Linked DNA regions of Homo sapiens: region 1 is linked to region 2. Evidence: promoter capture Hi-C in 16 types of primary human blood cells and fetal thymus (Javierre and others, 2016). All regions are on one chromosome and are shown on one strand. The core of a region is centred on a gene start or on the middle of the fragment in contact, and the rest is flanking DNA. Distances in the headings are between cores, read along the strand shown. Region 1 overlaps CD300A (CD300a molecule). Region 2 holds the start of CD300LD (CD300 molecule like family member d).

Evidence for each region. Contacts are between HindIII fragments. The CHiCAGO score rates a contact against its expected background, and 5 or more counts as called.
Region 1: a fragment that was not itself captured here is called in contact with the fragment with the promoter of CD300LD in region 2 in 1 of 17 cell types (monocytes); the score reaches 6.0 in monocytes.

What each region holds. Positions count from the first base shown.
Region 1 is chr17:74,477,601-74,480,776 of GRCh38, reverse strand. All of the region lies in intron 4 of CD300A (CD300a molecule), which reads right to left. Among named protein-coding and RNA genes, the nearest start is that of CD300A, 13 kb to the right of the region's middle. RefSeq lists enhancers at 1,702-1,751, 1,762-1,841. The HindIII fragment of the contact is 1,051 bases long and covers 1,107-2,157 here.
Region 2 is chr17:74,590,920-74,594,125 of GRCh38, reverse strand. CD300LD (CD300 molecule like family member d) reads left to right here and starts at 1,843. Exons shown (of 4, transcript NM_001115152.2): 1 at 1,843-1,963. The coding sequence starts at 1,924. It overlaps CD300LD-AS1 (CD300LD antisense RNA 1), which reads right to left. Exons shown (of 3, transcript NR_171003.1): 3 at 1-2,142. RefSeq lists an enhancer at 1,810-1,939. The HindIII fragment of the contact is 5,067 bases long and covers 1-2,403 here.

The DNA of each region.
Region 1 (3,176 bases), core at 383-2,882, 110 kb after region 2:
GACTCTGTCTCAAAAACGAAAAAAAGAAAGAAAGAAAGGAAAGAAAGCTCCCAGCTGGAGGAGAGGGACCAAAACAAGCTCTCAACACGGGATCTCACACAAATGTTTCCAGGGGAGGAAGGATGCCACTGAAAAGCCCTGTGCATCTGGGGCTTAGGGCTGCATCAGACTGTGGGAAGTTGCTGGGGCCTCTGCTCCCATCCCCGTGCCTGAGGTCTGCCCTCCCAGACAGCCCACCTGCCTGCTGCCCCAGGCCGTAGGGAAGGAGGCCTGTCAGCCCCAGGGACGCCAGCTCAGGCTCACACAGCCCTTGGCTGCTGGCACCTGCTCTATAAGGGTGCTGCCTATGAGCACAGCCCTGTACACCCTAACCCTTTCACCCCAGGAGCCCGGACCACGTGGGCAGCGGGTGACACACACGCTGCTGATGCCCTTGGTTAGGTCCACAGCCAGGCAACCCCAGAGCCCACTGCACTGGATGCTGTGGGGATCTGTGGGCTCCTCCCCCAGAATTAAAGGGGAGGAGCCCACGGTTGGGAGACACAAGACCACGTATAGTGACGGGCTTGCTGAGCCACAGCTGACCTAATGGAGTGCGCAGCCGGGTACTCTGGGGTGCGAAGTGCCCTGCTTCCAAGTGCTGTGCGCAGGCACCACACTGCCCTCCCTGTCCCCACCTGGGACAAGTGTTCTGATGGGAAGGAGAAAAAGAGCTGGTGGGGAAGAGACAGGAGTTCAACGCCCGGGAAGGAGGGTGGTAGTGAGAAGGTTTGGGGGAGCCAGCGGTAGGGGAAGCTCACTGAAGGTAAGACCCAGTCTACCCCAGTCACAATGTTGTCCCCAGGGCCCAGCACAGGCCTGGCACACAGTAGGTGCTCAGGACAGCTTTGTTGTACGAATGAATGAACGACAAATGTGGGCTGGGGGAAAGAGTGGGGAGTAGGTGTGATGAGGCAGGTGTCAGGCTCCAGGCAGGGCAAGGGGAAGTCAGCCCCAGCCACACAGTCAGGGGATGGGGCACGGACTTGCAAAGCAGGGGACAGAGAGTCAAAAATGTTTGAATAGAAAGCCTTTATCTTGTTACTGAGGATGGGTTACAGGAAGCTTAAGACACCAGTAAACTCTGCGTCTGTGATTTTTAGAACATTTACTAGCTGGGAACATGGTACCATATGTTAAGTGCAAAAATGTAGGTTTAAAAGAGAATGAGTGGTATGAGGCCAATTTGTTAAGACATCGCAGATGCATGACTGGGTGTGGTGGCTCACATCTGTAATCCCAGCACTCTGGGCTTGAGCTCAGGAGTTCAAGACCAGGCTGGGCAACATAGTGAAACCCCATCTCTTAAAAAAAAAAATTTAACCATTAGCCAGACGTGGTGGTGAGCACCTGTAGTCCCAGCTATTTGGGAGGCTAAGGCAGGAGGATCACTGGAGCCCCGGGCAGTGGGGGGTCGAGGCTGGAGTGAGCCAAGATCATGCCACTGCACGCCAGCCTGGGTGACAGAGTGAGACTCTGTCTCAAAAAAGAGAAAAAAAAAGAAATCATAGATGCATTTACATAGGCATAGAAAAAAAGACTGGAAGGATATACCTCAGGGGCCAGTGGCTGGTTTTCTCTAGGTGGTGGGGTTTTTAGTTATCATCGATGATGGGGGATTTATTTCCTTCTTTGTGCTTTTGCTCATTTTTCAAACTTCCTACAATAATCACATACATCCTTTTCAAGGGGGGAGGAGGCTCTTTGAGGAGCCAGAGACTTTCTGGGTGAAAGGGCACAAAGGAAACCGAAAGGGGCTCAGAACTGAGACAACCCAGTGGCATCCACGTGGGTGCTGAAGTTTAGGATGGGATTACCAGAAAATGACACACACAAAGCAGATGGGAAAGAGGAAGTGGTTTTCTTCCCATACACCCTGCACAGATCTACTGAGGCTGATTTCTCCGCCAAAAGCCTGGGCGCCACAGGAGGCACTGGGGATATGTGTGAGCAGTGCCCCCCACCAAGCATGCAGCAGCTTATCCTGCAGCTATGGGACAGGATAACCCCATCTCTTCCCACCCCAGTCTCACTGCAGTCTTGGAAGGCTTTGGACAAAGATTCCCCTGAGAATCTTCTGCCTGTGGAATCTTCAACTCTCCGAACAGGGAGGAAGCTTCAGGCTTACACTTGACCTCGGCCAGGGATCTGCAATCTAGAGGACTGGTGGCCACACCTCCACTTGTTCCTCTGTTCCTGTGCTTATTCAATTTGCCTATCAGCTATTTATTGAGCATCTACTTACTGAGTGCCAAGAGTTCCTGTTCTCTCTTTTAATCTGAGCTCAGAGGAGGGCAGCTGGACTAGAGATTGCCTGGAGGCCCCTGGGGTGCCCGTTGCAGCTGGAGATACTGAATAACACATTAATTTGACAAATATTGGTTCTGTACCTCCTTGAAGCACATGCCTGTGGGAAGGCAGATGAGGACACCAGCAATGACAGTCTGGTTCCCAAAAGGCTGTGACAGCAGAGGTATAGCCAGGAGGGGCCCCAAGCCACTCTTTGGAGTCAAAGAAAAGGTCCCAGAGAAAAGAAAGTCTGAGGACCACTGTTGGAGTCCACTGGGAGTGAGCTGGGGAGAGGGGGCAGGGGAGGCCCTCCAGCCCAGAGCAAACCCAGAAGGAGAGGAGAGGCTGAGGTTGAGGCTGTCATTAAAGGAGATACAAGAAGTTGGTTTCCAGGGTGCGCGGATGGGGAGAGGGAGGTGGGTAGAGCCAGATCGTGGAGGGCAGTGACTCCTGTAGATACCTGGACTTTTTATGGTGGGGGAGACCATGCAAGGGTTTATTTTATCTTATAGACACGGGAGCCTTGTTGTGTTGCGCAGGCTGGTCTTGAATTCCTGGGATCAAGCAATCCTCCCATCTCAGCCTCCTGAGTAGCTGGAACTACAGATGCACACCACTGCACCCAGCACACCATGCCAGGGTTTTAAACAGAAGAGGGTCATTGCTTCATGGGGCAACCACCCTTGGCCTGGAAGTGGGAAAGCCTCCTGCTTGGGAGCCACCTCTCACAGCCTGTAACCACCACGCACAAGGATGCCTCCCATGGGACCTGCCCTGTAGGATCACCTAGGATGTGTGGTCTGGGTGTCACATGTCATAGCAATACTGTGGGACGTGGACATAGCTTT
Region 2 (3,206 bases), core at 594-3,093:
GCTTTTGGTTACAAGGATAAGGTCTTTAGCAGTGACTTCTGAGATTTTGGTGCACCCTTCACTGGAGCAGTGTACACTGTACCCAATGTATGGTTTTTTATCCCTCATCCCCTGCATCCTTTCCCCTAAGTCCCCAAAATCCATTGTATCATTCTTGTGCCTTTGTATCTTCATAGCGCAGCTCCCACTTATAAGTGAGGATGTACAATATTTGGTTCTCCATTCCTGAGTTATTTCACTTAGAATAATGATCTCCAACTCCATCCAGGTTGCTGTGAATGCCATTATTTTGTTCCTTTTTGTGGCTGAATAGTATTCCATGGTGTATATGTACACCGCATTGTCTTTATCCACTCATTGCTTGATGGGCATTTAGGCTGGTTCCCTATGTTTTCAATCGCAAATTGTGCTGCTATAAACATGCGTGTACAAGTGTCTTTTTTGGAACTAGTTTTTTTGCCCAGGCTAGAGAGCAGTGGTGCAATCTGGGCTCACTGCAATCTCCACCTCCCAGGTTCAGGCGATTCTCCTGCCTCAGCCTCCTGAGTAGCTGGGATTACAGGCGTGTGCCACCACCTGGCTAATTTTTGTATTTTTAGTAGAGATGGGGTTTCTCCATGTTGGCCAGGCTGGTTTCGAACTCCTGACCTCAGGTGGTCTGTCCGCCTTGGCCTCCCAAAGTGCTGGATTACAGGCATGAGCCACCAGAGCTATTTTATATACTATTTACTCCTACATACTCTGAGGTCTCAGTTAGCTACACTTTATCTTGTTCTCAACTATGATTGGATAACCAAGAATCAGCAGACACTTGAGGAAGGCTCATAATATAGAAGAAGCAGACAACAAAACAAAGATGTGACCACTGAGTGGAGGGATATAGTTCAAGGAACAGAAGAGAGTTTGAAAACATCAGTAATCAAAGAACCAAAAAAACTTTTCGAAATAAAAATACAGTCTCTAAAATCAATATTTGATCCAAGGATTGGAAGGGAAAGTACAAGCATGAAATAAACAATATAAAAAGCTCCCCAAATGTAGAACAAAGCCCACAGATATGGAAAATATAAAACAGGAGAGAAAAAATGAATCGATTCAGGAGGGAAAGGGAGAGAAAGAGGGAAGGGACCATCTAAAGAAAGTGGGGAGAGACCGGGAAAGAAGTCAGTTCGGGCGTCAGCAGAACAAGTAGATTACAACAGCAGCCAGGGGAAAGTGTGCAGGGATAGGGAGGATGAAATCAGGGCAAGAGGAGGCTAACGAGAAAAGGCAATTTCTCCATTCCTGACCTTCCCCACTGAGCCCAGCTTTGGCTTCAGAGTGATTTCAGAGTGGCTTCAGAGTGACTCATGATCCCAGTGGAAGTGTTCCTGGGGGAAGGGGCAGTGGGTCAGACAGCCCAGGGCAGGAAGAGGCAATGAGATGTCTTACAGTGGGGCTGCCTGGAAGAAGCCTGGGGCATGGGCTTTCTCCAGCAAGGCTGGGTGTGAGTCCTGTGCACTGTGGTCTTCCCAAAGTGCTCCTCTCCCTGCACTCCTCATGGCTGGCCTTGTCCGTCCTCTCCTCCAGGCAGTAGATCCCGCAGCTCCTCAATGCTTGGGTTCCTCCTGGCTCCTCCTGCTCCTTGGCTCCTACGTGCACTCCCGTGCAAACCTGACCAGTCCCGGACACATTTTCTTTTCCACATGCACAAAAGTTTGGGCACACCTTGCAACATACACTGTACCTTAGTCTTTTCAAAGAATGACACCTCTTTTCTCCTAATATGTAAAAAGAGAAGTAGCTACAGATGTAACAGGAAGTGAGCAAGAGACTTGAAGGAGATTCGAGTAGGTTTGCGGTGTTGACTTCCGAGCTTGGATTCAAGTCCCTGAAGGGCACCAGACACCTGTGATCACCAAGGAGAGGAGAGGAGACAGGACCATGTGGCTGTCCCCATCTCTGCTGCTTCTCATCCTCCCAGGTGAGTGTGGCTGGAGCTTTAAGGCACTGGAATGACAGCGGCTGGCTTGGAGACAGAGACGCTCTGTTCTCAGGAAGGAGACATGTCAGGGAAAATGACAGCGCCAATTCATCCATCCATGCCCATATTCATTAAATAGCAATCAAGTTTTTGTTATCTGACAGGTTCTGTGTTAGATGCTGCAGAAACAAACACACACAAAACAAAACAAGTATAGCTTCTTGTTGGAACAGTGGTTCTCAACCCTGACTGTTCCATATAAACAGATGAATGAACAGATATCAATGAAGGAAGGAACTAATGAGTGAGTCCATTCTTGAAGAACTTTTTTTTTTTTTTTTTTTTGAGCTGGTGTCTCGCTCTGTCACCCAGGCTGGAGTGCTTCTTTCACTTAGCATGATGTTTCAAGGTTACTTTGTGTTGTAGCACAAATCAAAGCTTCATTCTTTTTCATGGCTGCATAGTATTTCACAGTGGATATACCACATTTGGTTTCTCCAGTCATTTGTCAATGAACCTTAGGGTTGTTTCTACCTTTTAAAAATTGTTAGTAATAATGTTATGAACTTTCATAGCACAGTTTTGTATGGAGATATGTTTTCAGTTCTCTTGGGTATATATCTAGGGGTAAAATGGCTGAATCCTATGTTAATTCTATGTTTAACTTTTTGAGGAAGCATCAAACCTTTTTCCCAAGGATTTATATTTGAGTACAGCTTTGGCTGTCATGTCAACAAATTTTGATACGTAGTGTTTTCATTTCTGTTAAAATGTAACAAATCTATGTGCTTCTCATATTATCTATACTCAGATCAAGCTTTGTAAGAAAATTTTTCCTTCCAATCTCAAATTTATTTTCTTTTAAAATAGATTATTATTATTATTATTATTATTTTTATTTTTTTTTTTTTTGTAGAGATGAGGACTCACTTTCATGCCCAGGCTGGTCTCAAACTCCTGGGCTCAAGTGATCCTCCCACTTTGGCCTCCCAAAGTGCTGGGATTATAGGTGTGAGCCACCATGCCTGGCTTCAAATTTATATTCTGTAAACAATTTTCAGATATATTCTCCTTCCTTTCCTTCCTTCTGAGACAGGGTGTGCTCTGTCACCCAATCTGGAGTACAGTGCTGGGATCAGGGTTCACTGCAGCCTTGACCTCCCAGGCTCAAGCCATCCTCCCACCTCAGCCTCCTGAGTGAGTAGCTGGGACTACAGGCATGTGGTGCGACACCCAGCTAATA